Regions from separate parts of the Homo sapiens genome. Here region 2 is linked to region 1. Evidence: promoter capture Hi-C in 16 types of primary human blood cells and fetal thymus (Javierre and others, 2016). All regions are on one chromosome and are shown on one strand. Each heading gives the region's core, a stretch centred on a gene start or on the middle of the fragment in contact. The rest is flanking DNA. Distances are from core to core; before and after follow the strand shown. Region 1 holds the start of DOCK8 (dedicator of cytokinesis 8). Region 2 overlaps DOCK8 (dedicator of cytokinesis 8).

Region 1 (3,609 bases), core at 1-2,500:
GGAAATAAAATCGTCAATAAAGCTCGATATGCCCTCTAGAAGACCTTATCGCCTTGTTTTTCTAGGCTTTTAATTCCTTGTTCAAACCTCTTCACACACTAACAGCACAAAGATGAACCTACGGTGGAATCCACCTTTCACAGGCTCAGCTAAGTGAAGATTAACAAATCGGACAGCCCTGTGGGCAATAGAATAAGTTGACACTTTAGAATGAGTTTCCTATTATCTTTTAACTAGACAGTCTAGCTTTCTCAGGGCAAGACAAAAATGTCCCAATTACTTGTCAGCAGTTTTTAGTGGAGGAAAAACTGCAGTTAAAGCACCTTTACTGAGAACTTTGAGCAGTAAATGTGCTTACATATTTAGTTTGTGCAACTTTGATTAGGAATTGGATGGTGAGTTGGGATCCCCCAGTCCTTAGCTTTTTGCTGGAGTTCTGTAAATCTCAAAATGTCAGCCACAGGCCATTTCTTTTGGTTTATTTAAGTGTAGATTTTTTAAAAAATCACTTTTTCCACTTCATGGCTCCTTTGGACCAGGGTATAAAAATAGCGATGCCACCAGGAGCCAAGCTCTTTCTGGAATAATGAAGCAGGCGAGGACGGAGCCTTGCTCAGGACGACAGAAGGCTTGCAGCCTGCCTCAAACGCAACTCTAATTTCAGCCACTTCACTTCTTCCCCCCGCGCTCAGACTTGCCTCAAAGGAAGGAGCCGTTTATGAGACACTCCGTGGCGCGCCCAACACGGTTACCCAGGCGCCTATCACCCTTCTGGGACCCGGCCACCTGTAAGAACCTGGAGGGCGGAGCGGGCGAGGTTGTTCGGGGAAGGGATCCCCGGCGGCTGAGGACATCCAGGAGCACCGAGATTCTTGGGGAGGACCTCGCCGGGCCCAGCGCAGGAGCCGCCGCGCGTCCAGCGGCTCCACCGCCGCAGCCTCGGGAACCGGGCGCCCCAGGTCTCAGGCGCGCCCCGCCGCGGACGCGAATGGACTCGTCCGGCCTCGGCCCCTGCAGCGAAGCTCCGCTTCACACCAGCGCTGGGCTGTCCGGCCGCAACCTGCGCGCCGCGGGGGGCGTCTTACCTGTTGATCTTGAGCGCGAACGCGCGGCGCTCTGCGCTCGGCAGAGTGGCCATGGCCCGCCGGCGGTTCGGTGGCTTCTAGGGTCGCGGGGTGCGGAAAGCGGGGGCCTGGCGCGCCGCAGAGTAGCCGCGGAACATGCCCAGCCAAGCGCAAACCTCGTCTGTCGGTCGGCGCTGGAAACTTCCGCATTTCCACCTTCTAAGCCGAAATCACCCCGGGGGAGGGTCCGAGCTCGGAGCAGCGACGGCCGGCTCCGCCACCCGGCCTGGCGCGCAGGCAGCGGCGGGCGAGGAGGGCGTGGGCCCAGCGCGGAACTGGCCTCCCGATACTGGGGCAGACGGCGCGCTCTGCCCGGGGCCGCCGACCTCCGGCCGAAGGGAGCGCGGGCGGACGACAGGCGACCACTGCGCGCAGGCCGGAAGCTCCATCTGCCCGAAGCTGCGAGGCTGCCAGGGAATGTAGGCAAGTCGGGGGAGCCCCACAAAGCTGGCGAGGTCGGGAATCACCCCAGGGATTCGTAAGGCTAGGTGTTATTAAGGGTTGACACCATTCTCGAAGAAGGCAGCCAAAAAAAAAGACAAAAAAGTTAGTGGAATCTATCAGGATTCAAATCAACTTTTGCAAGCAATATGCCCATCATCCTTCCTGAGACACTAAATAAATATAATGGATTCATCCAAGGAATAAACATTATGAGTTCTCAAAAAATGTTTTCGTCACAACCTGGCGTGAATGCTTTTCTCCGGAGAAACACTGAAGGCGGCGTTCTTGCGATTCAAGGGTACGCTGCGTCCAGGTTTATTTCAGTTTCAGACTGAGGTCTGCTAAGAAGCCCGGCCTCAAACTCAAGATAAAAACAGAAAAGTCCCAGTGTTGACGGGAGTGGAGGAGCCCGTGTTCGCTTCAAGGTGCCGGCGTGCTGCTCTAACCTGTGCTATATATACTCGAGCACTCTCCATATAATGCCTCCATTTACCAACTTGCTCTTAAAAAATACCAAAGCAGGCCGGGCGCGGTGGCTCACGCCTGTGATCCCAGCACTTTGGGAGGCCGAGGCGGGCGCATCACGAGGTCAGGAGATCGAGACCATCCTGGCCAACGTGGTGAAACCCCGTCTCTACTAAAATACAAAAAATTAGCCGGGCGTGGTGGCGCACGCCTTAGTCCCAGCTACTTGGGAGGCTGAGGCAGGGGAATCACTTGAACCCGGGAGGCGGAGCTTGCAGTGAACCGAGATCTGCCACTGCACTCCAGCCTGGCGACAGAGCAAGTCTCCGTCTAAAAGAAAAAAAAAAAAACAACCAAAGCGAAGTATTTTTGGTTCAAACCTGCACTATTTAATATGATAGCCACTAGCCACATGTGGCTATTGACCACTCGGCATTATGGTTAGTCTGAATTGCCCACTGCTGGATGTGTAAAATGTACACTGGAATTTAAAGACAGCGCAGAAAACATCGTGTAAAATGTCTTGTTAATGATTTTCATGTTGATTGCATGTTAAATGATACTTTGGATATAAAAAATATATTATTAAAGTTAATTTCACCTGTTTGTTTTCCCCTTTTAAAAATGTGGTTTGCATTTTTAAAAATGTAAAATTACACATGTGGCTCACATTTGTGAGCCTCATTATATTCCTATTGGACAGTGCCAGTCCAATACAACCTAATTTGTCACCTAATACTAAAATCCACCTAAGGACTATATTCAGTCTCTTCCTGATACAGCCTTCCTTCCTGGTTTCAGCTGTGTCAGGTAGTTTAGTAACTTTTCAGTACTGGTTAGGTAACTCCCCGCCCCCCAATGCCCACCAAATATCAGTGCCCTTTTAAGCATATAAGACAAAGTTCACTGCATAGACTACAATAGACTACATACGAAAACAAACCCAAAGAAAAATAAAGCTTTTTTGAAATTTAGAGTTTCTGACTTTCAAAACTGTCCTTATTTACTACATTGGAATTTATGAGCAAACATTTGGATAGCAAAATACAAAGAGAACAAATGTGTAAGTACTTCTTCAAACTGAGACTCAACGAATGATACATAGAAAACATTTTGCCCCAGAGGCTTCGGTCCACGGTGTACCATGTCAGCCTTTCGGATGAACTCCTCTGAATTTCTGAATGTTTATGACATACATTTTCATATAGAACAAAAATATACTGGTTTCACACAAACATAAATAAAATGTAATGAAAGCATCTCAGATTTTCAGCATTTGCAATCAAGGAAACTTTTTGGGTGAATGTGGGAATCATAAAACCTTCCATCTTGCCTCAGATCATACTGCAATAGATTTAGTATTTGGTACCTAACCATGAAGGTTAGGCCAGCATTATTATCCTCTGTGCTGTCAATTTCTTGATGGTTAGAATTGTCTCCAGATTTCCTTAACACTCTTTTAACAATTCACCATGAATGTGTTATCCATTAATTTAGTCAAATGCCTGTTTTCAAGTTTGATCTGCTGTTAGATACATTCACATATTGCTGGCAAATAGCCATCCAAGTGCCTTTC
Region 2 (7,517 bases), core at 5,018-7,517, 34 kb before region 1:
CTAATGCTGTAACAACAAAGTTAACTTGAGCAAACTTTGAACAATTCCCTTGCAGGCCCTGTTCTGGAATCTCTCCAGTGGTGACCCTCAAACTTTAGCATACAAAAATAAGAATCTGCTAAAGAACTGATCAACCATGCAGATTTCTGAGCGCCACCCTCCTGAGATTCTGATTCATTGGTTTGAGCACAGCTAGAATCTGCATTATAATAACGCCAAGGGTTCAGATGTAGTCCACCTAAGGACACTCTGAGACAAGCAACAACTGCCTTGTGAACTTCGAGCCAATGGAAAACCCGACTGAGAAACCTGTCTCATCATTAAGCCAACTTTATAATCTCAAGTCGTGATGCATACTTGGTGCTCACTCAAATGGAAGTAGAAGGAGAATGTGAGTCAATGTGGTTCTATCTGCAATTTTCCACTTCCACCTGCAGGGAAATGATTTATCCATAATGCAGGAAGGTCAAGGTTCCCAGGATAGCACAAGTCAACATTTTCCTTCTTACTACTATGTAAACAAGTTTTTCAAGGCACTTTAGATTTAAAAAGTTAACAAAGAGGAAAGACAAAGGAGGAAAGAAGGAAGAGAAGGATTTTCACAGGAAAAATAAAAGAAAGGTAATCTTGCTAAAGTAAGTAGGACGAACTGGACTATACCTGCTGAATAATTATAGGGTACGCTTCAGAAGGCACACACTCAGCGAAGCCAGACACACTGGCCAGTAACGAGATAGCAAGAGTTGGGAATTATTCATTTTCTGGCCTCATATTATCTGCAGAGTCCATGAGGGTTTAGGAGGATGGTCTTTTTCAGAAATCTTAATCTGTATCAAATGGAGGAATGGAATTGCATCTCAGTGAGATCTTGCTGTCCCGATTCTTCTTCAGCCACCTGTATGCCTACCATGGGTTTGCAAATTCTGCCCTGGGTCTGGTTACTACATTAAGAATATATCTTACTGTCAATATCAGGGTTCCTATTAAACTGTTCTCCTATGCAGTTCCCAAATATTAGACACATAAGGAAAAGTGCTTTCCTAAAAATGCTTTACTTTTTACCTTCAACAAGGGAACAACAGTTAGCTTCAACTTTCAACAGTTTTAGAATACTTTGCATTTTAAAAGCTTCTTGCATTTGAACACATCTCAAAATCTTGGCCTCACTCTCTTTTCTCAATGCATAAATGTGGTTACGATCCCTGGGGGTTTTCACATGCTTTTATACCAGGTGACTGTGTATTAAACGAGCTAAGGTAAAGTTGATCCATGATAATTAACAGGAATAAGATTTTAGGGGAAAAAATCCTAAAACCTGTTTCTTAAATGAAGCCATCAATCATGGCAGAGGAGCCACATGTTGGGCACAAAGCCAACACCCACACGGCTCTTTCTGGGACAAGGCTTTTGGTCAAGGGCAAGGTATTCCCCACAAGAAGAGAGCTGAATATGTCTCCCATTTTGCTAGTCTCTTATATTAGCATAACTTTTAGTCTTATGGAGGCAAACCTTCCCTGTTCCAGAGCCTTACTTCCAATGAAGTAGGCAAGGCAACAAACACTCAAAGAAGTTAAGGGACTGCTTAAGCCTAACAAATCTTGCAGGTGGTAGAGGTGGAATGAGAACTGAGTTTATGCTTAGGAAAGTAGACTGTGGTCTTTTTTCCTAAAGAAAGTTGCTTTGAGTAGGTACAATGGGCAGTAGGTCACCATTTAAAGAGGAAAGAAATCCGTGACCAATCATAACTTGCTATGCTTGTAATTCCCACCACCTTAAAGCACATAGGAAGTGTTTAGTTCGATTGAAAGATCAGTTACTTGAGAGAATAACATACAAACTAAACCTTAGTACAGTGTGATATTCCTACATCAGACTAATCTATATCCACCTAATTTCATACAGGGACACTGAGGAAGTGAAGCCCAGACTACCCTGTAGATGCATAGGAAGCTAAGGAAGATAATGGGTCCCAAAAAAGCAATGGTGGGAATTGGGGTCCAGTCCTTTTCCAGGAGGGATGGAGTGTAAAAAGAATATTAATAAAATTAGGTGTTCAAGGCTAGTTTCCGAAAAAACATTTTGAATCAAACCTCTGTCCCAAGGACAGAATAAAACACTCTGTGCTTTGGGATACCCTAGGACCAACTTCATCCATTTCTCAGTTTTTCTTAGATTAGGACAATAATAAGTAGTTTAAATGCATGTTGGCTACCAACAAAAGTTAACAAATAAAGCCTGCCTAAATTGATGTGAAGAAGTATACATAGGACTTTTTTTTTTTTTGAGATGGAGTCTTGCTCTGTTGCCCAGGCTGGAGTGCAGTGGTGTGATCTCGGCTCACTGCGACCTCCCGGGTTCAAGCAATTCTCCTGCCTCAGCCTACCAAGTAGCTGGGGCTACAGGCATGCATCACCAGGCCCGGCTAATTTTTTGTATTTTTAGTAGAGATGGGGTTTCACCATGTTGGCCAGGCTGCTCTTGAACTCCTGACCTCAGGTGATCTGCCCGCCTCGGCCTCCCAAAGTGCTGGGATTACAGGGGTGAGCCACTGTGCCCGACCTACATAGGAATTTTTTAAAAAATAAATGAATCTAACAAGACATTTATTTTCAATATTCTCATGCTAACTTACACAGTAATCATATTCCAATGAATAACAACTGGTTCAAATCTTGCATAATCATCTACTAATTGTGTGATCTTGGGCAAATTAATTAACCCTGCTAAACATATGGTGGAGTGACAGAGACACAGACACACAGAGAGACTCAGAGTTCCAAACCTGTCAGGCTGTAAGAATTCCCTTGGGGCTGGGCACGGTGGCTCACGCTTGTAATCCCAGCACTTTGGGAGGCCGAGGCCAGTGAATCATGAGGTCAGGAGTTCGAGACCAACCTGACCAACATGGTGAGACCCCCGTCTATGTTAAAAGTACAAAAATTAGCCGGGCATGGTGGCATATGCCTGTAGCCCCAGCTACTCAGGAGGCTGAGGCAGGAGAATCACTTGAACCCAGGTGGCAGAGGTTGCAGTGAGCCGAGATCTCACCACTGCACTCCATCCTGGGCAACAGAGCAAGACTCCATCTCAAAAAAAAAAAAAAAAAAAGAAAACACAATTGCTCTCGCTTCTGCACCCCATGTGCTGGTTAAGTAGTTTCCCATTCTTCTTACTTTTTGGTGTACCCTTAAAATAATGCACCATTAACTTAGGTAACATGAGCGTATCTTTAATCCTTATAACCTGGAAAAGCCTGCTACTAGAACTACTATTACTGCAATTAACAATGCTAGTCACACTTAATGAGTGCTTTCTGTCTGATCGTTAGCCCATGTAGTCCTCACAACAACTCTATGAGGGAGGTATTATTATCTTCACTTTACAAATTTGGAAACTGAAGCCAAGAAAGGTTAAGAGACTTGTACAAGGCTTTACTGGTACACACAGAGAAGGAAGGAGACAGAAGATAGCCCTACTGGAAAATGTTATCACCAGGCGCATCTCAGAAAAAGCTGCTATCGGAGTGAAACTTCTGGTATTTTCCTTCCCGGGGGCTTGGCAATGGAAAGCTTAGCATGCGAAAGCTTTCAGAAGAAAGGATACTAAGCTTTGCCCCTGACTACTAAAAAGAGCAGGTTTTAGCTTGTTGCTGAGACTTTGAACCTGGCTCCAATATCATTAATCCTTTCATGGATAAGTAGTCCTGGAATACGTTCCAAATGGCATCCAAATACCCATGTTAGCAATGGGTAAAAGATTTAAGAGCAACTTCTAAACATTGATTTTTTTCATCAAGTATGATTCTCTTTTTGTGTAGTTTGTCTCTTTGTGTTTCACCAAGGAACAAATATTAAGCACAATAAAAGTGAAGCCCTGTGAAGTCCAAAATCTGTTAATGCACCAAATATTTTTCTAGAATGTGGGATGGGGCAGGCAAAGGAGACATCTGAAACAGAAATTGCATTCATGTTTTTATTCGAGATCTGTCCTTGTCAAATGTTTCCTACATTACCTGGACAATCCCTGTCTGTCCCTAGACTCCTCTTTGCTTCCTATAAGTCTGCTCAACTCACTGGCATCAGAAAAGAGCCTTCCCTTCATCAGAGGGCCTTCCTCAAGCTCATTCTCTCCCCTTCCCCTGAGCTCGAGTTTCTACTTCCTTCAGTCCCTCTCACTCCTAATCCAATGTTCGCAGGCTACCACCCTCACCCTTCTGTAAAAGCTTCTCTTGATATAGCCACTAAAGACCTTTTGCTGGACAGCCAGGACTTCCTTCCTGTCCTGTTTTAATGTGATCTTTCGGCTGCATCAGGCAGTGTTGACCTTCTAATCCGTCATGAAACTCCTCCCTGGGATTATACACATACTATCAACTCTACTATTTGATCATCCTCAGTTTCTTGAATGGGCTTTCCACCCGTGTAGGCCCCTTACATGTTGTTTACTCCCAAATGATAGTACTATGATAAATTTGGAATTGAGTGTGGAAGGTTCCGGGTAAGCAAATCTGTTTCTAAAACATGGGGAAGCATTAAAGAAAAAACATGGGGGAATCCCAATAAGGAAAAACCCAGTATGGTGTGGTATCAGAGGGTCTTGTTTTGATGAGTCTACTGGGAATATTTTATGTAGAGTAGATAGGTTATTGTAAATGGTCTTTTTCTCAGAGGAGATCAGTTTCTTTAATTGTTTCATTCCTTGAAGGGACAATGTCAAAGCTGTTGAGCCCAAAACCACCCCCTTTGACTCATTTAGCTCACATGGAAAAATTTTCCCTAAAGAATGCAGAAAGGAATTTCTACAAAGCAATTAATTTATCCTCTTTTGCCCAACTGCAAGCAGTAGCACATGAGCCTTGGCCATTTCCTGTCAGCTTAATAACAAACAACTCAGCCCTCTCTTGCCCTCGCATCTTGAACCCTACATGCTCCCAGAAATATGATAAATGCTTGTGCCAGGACATAATGACAACTTAAAAGATCCCTAGTATGTGGAATACAGTGGAGGAGTTCAGACTGTTACAGACTTGCCAAAGCCTGTGCTATAAAGCCTGTGTTCTAGAATAAGGGATAGGGCCTTTGGACTACCTGCAACATTATAGAGCTTTCAGACTGTTAGGGATTGTCCAGATGCTGTAAGAGTAATAGCACGTCAGCCAGGTGCAGCAGTTCACGCCTGTAATCCCAGCACTTTGGGATGCCGAGGCGGGGGCGTCGCTTGAGGTCAGGAGTTCGAGACCAACCTGACCAACATGGTGAAACCCCTTGCCCACTAAAAATACAAAAAAAAAAAAAAATTAGCCAGGCATGGTGGTGGGCACCTGTAATCCCAGTTACTTGGCAGGCTGAGGCAGGAGAATCGCTTGAACCTGGGAGGCAGAGGTTGCAGTGAGCCAAGATTGTGCCACTGCACCACTCCAGCCTGGGCAACAGGGCGAGACTCCGTCTCAAAAAATAAAAAATTAAAAAAATTAAAAAATAAGAAAAGAGTAATAGCATGCTAAACTATTAAGAGTAATAGTTTTTACTCTTAATAAACTAAGAGTAAGAATTGTATTACTCTTAATAGTTTGGCATGGCAGATGTGATGCAGTCTAACCAACTAGGAATGAAGAAGAAATGCCAGTTATTACATATTAAACTTTTGAAAGAAAATGTATTGAGGCTGTGAGATTGCTGCTGACAGTATAGAAAACATCACTGACTTTCCTCTTTTCATTTATCTTTGTGGAGTCACAGGCTGTGGTCAGAGGTAGGCTAAGGCTTGGGTGGTGACTTCACTCCACTTCGCAGAGTTTATTGTTGGACAAAAGAACTGGGCGTGGCACCTTGGGAAGGATGTGAATGTTCTGGTGAAGGAAGTGGTGTCCCCCAGTCATGCCATAGGACCATCTCTAGACTTGAAAGTTTGCCATTTGTTGGCACTGGCCCAAGATCCTGGGAAACCCCCCAGCAATCTTTCATCTATATGCAGTCCCAGGTGAGGGAAGTGTTTACAATAGCAACAACAGGTACCAAGAGCGGAAGGAGAAGATAGGATATTGGGTTCAACCTGGAAGAGTGGGACCTCCCACTACCTGTCTGTGGTGGAGGCAGCCCTCTTTCCATAAGTGTGCAGTCATTTTTGCCCTCACTCACTTCACTCTGTCACCTAGAATGAAGTAACAATAACAGGCCACAAATGTCCATCCTTAAGATTATGATGTTTCTGGAGAGTCTCTATTTTTCAGAGTTAGGTTTACTTCTTCAAGCAGCACCCCTGCTTTTGGTAACAGCACTATCTCAGCAAAAATGCAACTGAATCTATGAGCAATAACCCACCAAGTACTTACAGCCACAAACCAATTCATGTTGGTGAATAGGACAGGAACAGGAAGGTGGAGAATCTAAAGGTGGCATCACTCATGCCAGTATTTTCATTAGGTCGTGACAGCTACATCAAAAGTAAGAAAGATAGAAAGAAAAGAAGATGGAAAGAAAGAAAGAGAGAAAGAAAGACAGAGAGAGAGAAAGAAAGAAAGAGAGAGAGAGAGAAAGAAAGAAAGAAAGAGAGAGAGGGAGGGAAGGATGGAAGGAGGCAAGGAAGGAAGAAAGAGAGGAGAGAGGAGGGAGGGAGGAAGGAAGGAAGGAAGGAGGGGAAAGACAGAAGGAAGGGAAAAATAAAAGAAAGAGAACACTTGACATAGGCAAATGGTGTTCCTTTGAAAGCAAGGAAGGTAAAATTGACCAAATAAAATTGGTAATGAGTCAGGCCTTATAAAGACAGAATGTTCAGTATTGACGGCTTAAAGGTGATGTTAATCTGTTTTGTCTAAAAGGCACAGGCCAGGGAGACTATAGGGAGAAACAGGCAAAACAAGAGACCTGAGCCCTGGTGCTTGAGGGGCAAAGCCCAGGGTGGACAGTGAATGTGGTAGCAGGTGACACCTCAGAGATGCTGTTCACGGAAAGCCACCTCAGATGAGGCTCTCTGCTCCACCAAATTATCAGACTCTCTGTATTGGACTTAATGCAAGATTCTTTTCCTCGGACATATTAAAGTTTCAACACAAAGTTTGCTCAGCTTGTTTACTCAACTTTGTTTCTTTTTTTTTTTTTTAACTTAGAGAAGATCAGAAAAGAACATTTTAATACAATATACATTGGGGCAATGAAACAGAAGTAATGTTTTAGTTTATTTATTAATGATAATACTATAAACAGAATTTAGTCTGGAAGTATTCATTTCCTTAGAGACTAACACACTTTTGAAACAAACATTTCTCTGCCATAATCCCAGCACTTTGGGAGGCCGAGGAGGGTGGATCACGAGGTCAGGAGATTGAGACCATCCTGGCTAACACGATGAAACCCCGTCTCTACTAAAAAAAAATACAAAAAATTAGCCGGGCGTGGTGGTGGGTGCCTGTATTCCCAGCTACTCGGGAGGCTGAGGCCGGAGAAGGGCGTGAACCCGGGAGGCGGAGCTTGCAGTGAGCCGAGATCACGTCACTGCACTTCAGCCTGGGCGACAGAGCG

What was found. The method cuts DNA at HindIII sites, captures the fragments that hold promoters and counts their contacts. A CHiCAGO score of 5 or more calls a contact.
Region 2: a fragment that was not itself captured here is called in contact with the fragment with the promoter of DOCK8 in region 1 in 2 of 17 cell types (neutrophils and monocytes); the score reaches 12.5 in neutrophils.

The regions. Positions count from the first base shown.
Region 1 is chr9:212,506-216,114 of GRCh38, reverse strand. It overlaps DOCK8 (dedicator of cytokinesis 8), which reads right to left and starts at 1,250. Exons shown (of 48, transcript NM_203447.4): 1 at 1,086-1,250. The coding sequence starts at 1,138. It overlaps DOCK8-AS1 (DOCK8 antisense RNA 1), which reads left to right and starts at 365. Exons shown (of 1, transcript NR_160804.1): 1 at 365-2,658. RefSeq lists silencers at 776-915, 1,086-1,135, 1,186-1,235, 1,246-1,495. The HindIII fragment of the contact is 3,855 bases long and covers 1-2,994 here.
Region 2 is chr9:247,564-255,080 of GRCh38, reverse strand. All of the region lies in intron 1 of DOCK8 (dedicator of cytokinesis 8), which reads right to left. Among named protein-coding and RNA genes, the nearest start is that of DOCK8-AS1, 36 kb to the right of the region's middle. The HindIII fragment of the contact is 4,086 bases long and covers 4,225-7,517 here.